2 separate regions of the Homo sapiens genome follow, and region 1 is linked to region 2. Evidence: promoter capture Hi-C in human tissues and cell types (Jung and others, 2019). All regions are on one chromosome and are shown on one strand. Each heading gives the region's core, a stretch centred on a gene start or on the middle of the fragment in contact. The rest is flanking DNA. Distances are from core to core; before and after follow the strand shown.

Region 1 (3,844 bases), core at 152-2,651, 410 kb before region 2:
CCACGTCCTGATTCTAAGTTTGGTGCTCTTTCCACGACTTCACAGATTTCTTCTGTTTCATAGATTTCATGATAAACTAGAAGGTGTGGGAGTAATAGTGAAGTCCTTGGCCGGGTGCAGTGACCCATGCCTGTAATCCCAGCACTTTGGGAGGTCAAGGCAGGCAGATCACTTGAGGCCAGGAGTTCAAGACCAGCCTGGCCAATATGGTGAACCCCTGTCTCTACTAAAAGTACAAAAATTAGCTGGGCATGGTGGCATACCTCTGTAATCCCAGCTACTTGGGAGGCTGAGGCACGAGAATTGCTTGAACCTGGGAGGCTGAGGTTGCAGTTAGTCGAGATCACGCAACTGCACTCCAGCCTGGGTGACAGAGCAAGACTCTGTATAAAAATAAAAAATTTCAAAAAAAAAGTGGAGTCCTCATTACCTTATGGGTTCTTAATTTTAAAAGACTGATTTTATACCTTCAAAAAAATGACTCATTATTTAAAGAAAGTGTATTCCATTTCTTTATCACTAAGGACTCCAGAACATGTAACTTGGAGTTAGTACAAGTGAGGCTCCAATGAGCATTTTTTTTTCTTTTTTTTTTTTGCGACAGAGTTTCACTCTTGTCGCCCTTGTCGCCCAGGCTGGAGTACAATAATGCAGCCTCAGCTCACTGCAACCTCCCCCTCCCAGGTTCAAGCAATTCTCATGCCTCAGCCTCCCGAGTAGCTAGGATTACAGGTGCCCACCACCAAGCTTGGCTAATTTTTGAATTTTTAGTAGAGACAGGGTTTCACCATGTTGGCCAGACTGGTCTTGAACTCCTGACCCCAGGTGATCCACCCGCCTCGGCCTCCCAAAGTGTTGGGATTACAGGCGTGAGCCACCACGCCCAGCTGAGCATATTAGTTTTAAAATGGAATTAAATTGAGTTTTCTAACTTAATTCCTCTTTCTTTTATACTTTCTCCAATTTTAGCTTCAGTAATTTTCTTTTTCTTGGAGATTCTCATAATACCTTTCCATCCATGGTCAGAATTTACTTGCAAAACAACAGAGTAAAACAGCATAAAAATAATGGAAGCTGCTTAAGTGTTTCATGGGGCCGGGCAAGGTGGCTCACACGTGTAATCCCAGCACTTTGGGAGGCCGAGGCAGGCGGATCATGAGGTCAGGAGATCCAGACCATCCTGGCTAACACGGTGAAACCCCGTCTCTACTAAAAATACAAAAAAATTAGCCGGGCTTGGTGGCGGGCGCCTGCAGTCCCAGCTACTCCAGAGGCTGAGGTAGGAGAATGGCGTGAACCCGGGAGGCGGAGGTTGCAGTGAGCCGAGATTGCGCCACTGCACTCCAGCCTGGGCGACAGACTCCGTCTCAAAAAAAAAAAAAGAAAGTCTTTCTAATTTGCTTAGATATCTAACCCCCACGTAAATGTGGGCATGAAATAATTAAGTAACAAAACTCTAGTTTGCTACAGTCACAAAGGAAGGTGTGATGTAACCCAAGAACTGTCATTTCTTCTGCACGTTGGAGAAGACTTTTTCAGGTTGTTCTGTTCTCTTCCTAAAAAAAAAAAAAGGAAACAGAGAAATGGAGAGAAGATAAAAAAAAAAGCAAGAGACTAACAGATATCAAAGCTGTGCGAGAGAGAGTGGCTGTGGCATGTATTTTGCAGGGCGGAGAGTGAAAGAAAGTGAACTTTCATTTGTAACAGCTTTAAATGGTTCTGTTCAGGAGCAGATGGGGAACAATTTTGCTAGTGCTATGGAAATACAGTTCGAAGGACTGCAATCACAGACCAAACTCTCAGCAACTGCAGACAGAGAAGCTGAGAATTTTCTGTAAATAGTTAAAAGCATCTGGACAAGGTAGACCAGTAGGAACATAAGACAGCATGGAGCTCAGAAAGTCAGCAGTCAATGTACACAACAAAAGAGTCGGACCAGGAGAGAGACAACCCACCAGTTATTTAGTGTAAAATGATTGGTGCTTAATATTGAAACTGTATGATTGTATAAAAGAACTGATGATTATAGTTGAGTTTAGAGATTTATGTTTAAATTAAATAATAAAATATAGCTTATTCTACAATGTACATTTTGTCCTATAATATACATTTTATTATATAATATACATTTAGTCAAACCTTTAAAAGGATCAATGAGATCCTTTTAAAAGTCTTCATGGGCCAGGCACGGTGGCTCACTCCTGTAATCCCAGCACTTTGGGAGGCCAAGGTGGGTGGATCACCTGAGGTCAGGAGTTCGAGACCAGCCTGGCCAATATAGTGAAACCACGTCTCTACTAAAAATAAAAAATTAGCTGGGCATGGTGGCGCACGCCTGTAGTCCCAGCTACTCGGGAAGCTGAGGCATGAGAATTGCTTGAACCCGGGAGGCGGAGGTTGCAGTGAGCCGAGATCGCGCCACTGCACTCCAGCCTGGGAGGTTGCAGTGAACTGAGGTCGTGCCACCGCACTCCAAAAAAAAAATAAATAAATAATAAAAAATAAATTTAAAAAAGTCTTTATGAAGTCTTGAGTTCGAACAGACAAAATCCTTTAACTATTCATGATACTCGAACCAAGTGGATTCCAGCTCCCAACTATAGGCTGGGATTTTGATGCCAAAAATTGGCAAGAAAGACAAAACAGCTGAGAATAGTGCCTGATGAAGGTGAACCACACTTGCAACTGCTTATATGTGGTCAGGTTTGTGTTAATGACTCTTTATGCTGTGGCATTCACAAAATTTCTCTCTCATCTTGGGATTTTTCCTCTTTCTTTTTTTTTTTTTAAAGACGGAGTCTCGCTCTGTCACCCAGGCTGGAGTGCAGTGGCGTGATCTCGGCTCACTGCAACTTCTGCCTCTCAGGTTCAAGCAATTCTCCTGCCTCAGCCTCCCAAGTAGCTGGGATTACAGGCACCCACCACCGTGCCTGGCTAATTTTTGCATTTTTAGTAGAGACGGGGTTTCGCCATATTGGCCAGGCTGGTTTCGAGCTCCTGACCTCAGGTGATCCACCCGCCTTGGCCTTCCAAAGTGCTGGGATTTCAGGCATGAACCACCATGCCCGGCCCCTCTTTCTTTTACTGGTAAGAAATTATAGCCGTACTCTGTCTCTCAGCTTCTCATGATCTCAGACTCCTATGGTCTCACCATTATTCCTTTCCTAATACATTCCATATTTTAGGCCATATATCTCCCCTGAGCCAGTCAGAGCTCAGTCTCTCCAGAAACACAGCTATAAACCAGGAAGAAAGGGAAAATGAAGGGTTAAGTAAAGAGAGAGAATGAAGCTTTATGTATCACCTGCTATGTGTCTAGAACTCTGTTATATACTTTATATATATTTCCTCACTTAATCTTTGTAACTGTATGATATCAGTCTTATTTACTCTATCAGATGATGAATCTGAGGTTCAGAGAGATTGAACAACTTGCCCAAGATGACACAGCTAACAAGTAGAGGAGTTAAGATGCAGATTTGGGTCTGTCTGATTCCAAAACTCATATTCTTTCCACTGCACCACACTGCTTTCCAAAACTTTATCTGAATAATCAAGACTTGTGTTGCAAAGTATGAACCCAAGGTATATGATGATTTATTTTACTCATATAGCTAGTCTAAAACCCTCACATAGAACTTGTGAGTCACAGTTGTCTGGTTCCTAAGCCTAGAGCTAATTAGAAAGAAGTAGCAAATTAAAAGATGAGGGAGGATTTTGTGAGCAAGTGCACTGACTACAGTGAGAAGAGGCAGATGGCAGCTTGATAGTAAGAAAAAAACCACATTCAAAAGCAGATATGGCTGGGCGTGGTGGCTCACATCTGTAATCCCAGCCCTCTGGG
Region 2 (3,992 bases), core at 137-2,636:
CCTCAAAAGCAAAAGGGCTGACAAACTGAAGACTTGTACATTCAGTCATTATTACTGTTTGTTGATCCTAATGGTAAAAATACAAATGAAAGTAGGAGTTTAACTTTCACATGTATGAACACCCAACTTTCTAAAAACCCTGAAAAATGTGGTGTATCTTTAATAGGTCCCTATGTTGGCAATGTTCCTGGCACAATCAAGACAAGGCTTCTCTGTCTCCCTAGGTTTATACTGTCACCTGGGAAATGGGAAAGAAAACAGAGTATATTAATGTCTCTTCCAGCCTCAGGAATCTTCTGCTCTAATACTCATATTTTACAAAGAAGGAATATGAAGCCCAGAGAGATGAAGTAACACGCCCAAAATAGTATTACTAGTTAGAGGCACAATCCAAGGCTGAATCCTCATCTACTAAAATCCCAGTCCAAGACTTTCTCCACTATATCAGTCACATGAGCTCCACAAAATGTAAACAAAAGTGAATGGTCATAGTTAAGTGCTTTCTTTCATACCCCGATAGTTTCACATGCCTACCCCGATATACATCAAGAACTATTGGGCTTCTCTTTCTCACCCTCCATGAGTCGGTGGAAAAACTAGCAAATCACTGGGCAGAACCAATGCCAGATTCAAGGCTCTGGAGGCCACAACACTATCCTATGTCCCCTGTGTTACCGGGTAAAAAGCAGATGTGTGGGTGCTATGTGAGAAAGACGCGTCTCATTAGCGCACTTCTCTGTCTCCAGGAATCATCCAAGGCACAAAAAGTAAACAAAAAGGCAGTGAGCTGGCAGCCAAAGCAGTCCCCTCTCAAGGCCGACCGACTAGCAGCAGCGTGGGTAAAAGTCGTGGGTAAAAACTGCTTTGCTTTCAGGGAGGGGCTGCTCTTTTAACAGAGGGGCGGGCTGACTGGAGCAGAGGAGCCAAGACCTGCGTGCTCCTCCGTCTCGCCCCGGGCGCAACTAGAACCAATAAGTCCCTCAGGCTGAGCAAAGTCTGGCCAGGCTCCGACACGGACCTAGGAACGCGCTGAGGCCAGAGAAGCGGACGCTTCATACCTTAAGATCTACCCTCCAGCCTCACGGAACCGCACACGGACTCCGCGTCCTAGAGGCGGGACGCGGCAGAAATCGAGAGCGCGGTCCGATGTTGGGCCTAGGCGATATCCGGAACCCCAAACCCTAGTTGTGCCTCGAGTCGACTCGGACACCAAGAACTCAGACGCCGGGACCAACCGGGTTGTCGATACAAAGTGGGAAGGATGGGGGCACCACACAAAGGCAGAACCGGGACTGTAGGAACGGAAAAGCGGGAGACTTTTTCAACCTGCACCCAGCACCTTCATTCATCCCCAGCGTCTGACTCCCGTCGGCCACCGTACTGGTCTGAGAGGAAGGGTGGCTGCGAGAGGAAAGGCAGAGACGTCGGCGCCAATGCAACTGTGCGCGTGCGCGGCCCCGCCCCTTTCTCCACTTTATTTGCCCTGCCCTACTTGTTCGCCAAAAATTTAGAAATGTGATTCTGGTAGGCTCTGATTTCCAGAGCCTACCAGCTCCTTCCTTTTAGACAAGCAAGCCACTGAGCCCCTCAGAACTTAAATTTCATCATCACAGGATTGCCATGGCATTCAAATGGCATAACGTGTGTTAAAATCGTTCCCACTATTCTTTGACACTAGTGGTACCAAACTGTACTCTTTAAATCTTTGCCTGTGCCTTCCCAGAACCAAAATTCTAGAATCCCAGGATTTGTGGGAGAATTTTAAAAGTGATCTAACCCCAAACTTTCTTCCGCTCTTGACCTCACACCTCCGCTGTCAGAAGTTAAACACCTTCCTTTCAGGTTCTTAACTTGGGGGACCCATAGAACCTTAGAGAGGCAATGCACGGGGATTCAGGAATTCTCTGGAATCCGTTCAGAACTGAGTGCTCGGCACTTCTTCTGGGAAGAGGGTCCAAAACTTTCAACAACTTCTCAAAGGAAGTCTGATCACTCAGAAAAGAACCACTAGTCTATATATGAAGAACCGCTAGTCCATATGTCTTCATACTATTTATTGTTCCTAGTTCGATCAACGTTTATTTGGCAACTTCTATTTACCAGATATTGTGCTAGGAGCTGGAAATAAAAATATTTTACAAAGATATAGCACTTTATAACCTCTTTAAAAATAAAGTCAGAGCCGGGCGTGGTGTCTCATGCCTGTAATCCCAGCGCTTTGGGAAGCCGAGGCGGGCGGATCACCTGAGGTCAGGAGTTCGAGACCAGCCTGACGCAACATGACTAAACCCCAACTCTACAAAAAATATAAAAATTAGGCCGAGCACGATGGCTCATGCCTGTAATCCTAGCACTTTGGGAGGCCGAGGCAGGCAGATCACGAGGCCAGGAGTTCGAGACCAGCCTGACCAACATGGTGAAACTCCGCCTCTACTAAAAATGCAAAAATTAGCCAGGCGTGGTGGTGTGCGCCTGTAATCTCAGCTACTTGGGAGGCTGAGGCGGGAGCATTGCTTGAACCTGGGAGGCGGAGGTTGTGGTGAGCTGAGATCGTGCCATTGCACTCCAGCCTAGGCAATAAGAGCGAAACTCCGTCTCAAAAAAAAAAAAAAAAAAAAAAAATTACCCCAGCGTGGTGATGGAGCACCTGTAGTCCCAGCTACTTCGGAGGCTGAGACAGGAAAATCACTTGAACCTAGGAGGCAGATGTTTCAGTGAGCAGAGATCATGCCACCGCACTCCAGCCTGGGCAACAGAGCCAGACTCCATCTCAAAAATATATATATATATATGACTTTCAACATAGATCAGCAAAGGAAGAAAAGAATTGTGTGTTGCAATGCTTCTGAAAATTTTTTCCACCTGACCCACAATAATACATTTCACATTGTGACCCAGAAAAAACATATGTATATATCCACATACAAAAATAAGTGTAAGTGTATAAATTTATATGCTATATAAACATATAAATATATAACATATAAACCCACATTTACATGGAAACAAATATTTCGTATAATAACACACACACTACATGTTTCTACTTCTCTTTAAAAAACTGCTGGTCACTGCACACTAAAACTGATTTCACACTCTATTAATGGGTTGCACACTGTACTGTCCTAGCATTTTTAAGCTAATATTTGGGATTTATTTATTGAACACTTGCTAGGCACTGTAATAAATGCTTTATATATATTATCTGATTCAATCTTGTGACGTAGGTAATATTCGCCTTTTGCAATTGTGGAAACTGAGAGAGGGTAAGCAATTTCATCTCCATGGATGGTCATTTCACAGGAAAAGTGTGAAGGCAGTGCAAACATTGGTTTGAGGGACGAATGAGAGGAAGATGTGGGTATGAACTAAGTGATTTTAAAGATCCTTTCCAACTCTAATTATGATCCTCTGTTCACTAATGGAGAAACATCATGCAGATTCAGTATCTCCATCTTGATCTATGGAGAAACAGAAAAATCACTGAATGAGATGGCTGCAGTGTCACATAATGAGTGCTGACACTTCCTCCAAGTCCCCCTCTCCTTTTCTTCCAGTTCACCAACTTGACCTTGAGTTGCTCAAGCCAGAAACCTAAAAGTCATCCTAGACTCTAATCTCTCCCCCTTGTATTAATTTAGCAAAAATCTTTATAATCATTGAAACATTGTAATGTTTGCCAATAAAACTTTTTTTTTTTTGAGACAGAGTCTCGTTCTGTTGCCCAAGCTGGAGTGCAGTGGCACGATCTCGGCTCACTACAACCTCTGCCTCCCAAGCTGAAGCAATCCTCCCACCTCAGCCTCCTGAGTAGCTGGGACAATAGGTGTGCACCACCACACTTGGCTAATTTTTTTTTTTTTTTTTTTGAGACAGAGTCTCGCTGTGTCACCCAGGCTGGAGTGCAGTGGTGCGATCTTGGCTCACTGCAACCTCCGCCTCCCAGGGTCAAGCGATTCTCCTGCCTCAGCCTCCTGAGTAGGTGGGATTAC

Evidence for each region. Contacts are between HindIII fragments. The study calls those that stand out against the background at their distance.
Region 1: a fragment that was not itself captured here is called in contact with the fragment with the promoter of INTS2 in region 2 in 1 of the 25 tissues and cell types used here (mesenchymal stem cells).

What each region holds. Positions count from the first base shown.
Region 1 is chr17:61,512,902-61,516,745 of GRCh38, forward strand. No RefSeq gene overlaps it. Among named protein-coding and RNA genes, the nearest start is that of TBX4, 62 kb to the left of the region's middle. RefSeq lists an enhancer at 1,287-1,787. The HindIII fragment of the contact is 4,645 bases long and covers 1-3,724 here.
Region 2 is chr17:61,926,596-61,930,587 of GRCh38, forward strand. It overlaps INTS2 (integrator complex subunit 2), which reads right to left and starts at 1,387. Exons shown (of 25, transcript NM_001351695.2): 1 at 1,059-1,387; 2 at 1-67. The coding sequence starts at 49. RefSeq lists a silencer at 1,418-1,517. The HindIII fragment of the contact is 16,998 bases long and covers 1-3,992 here.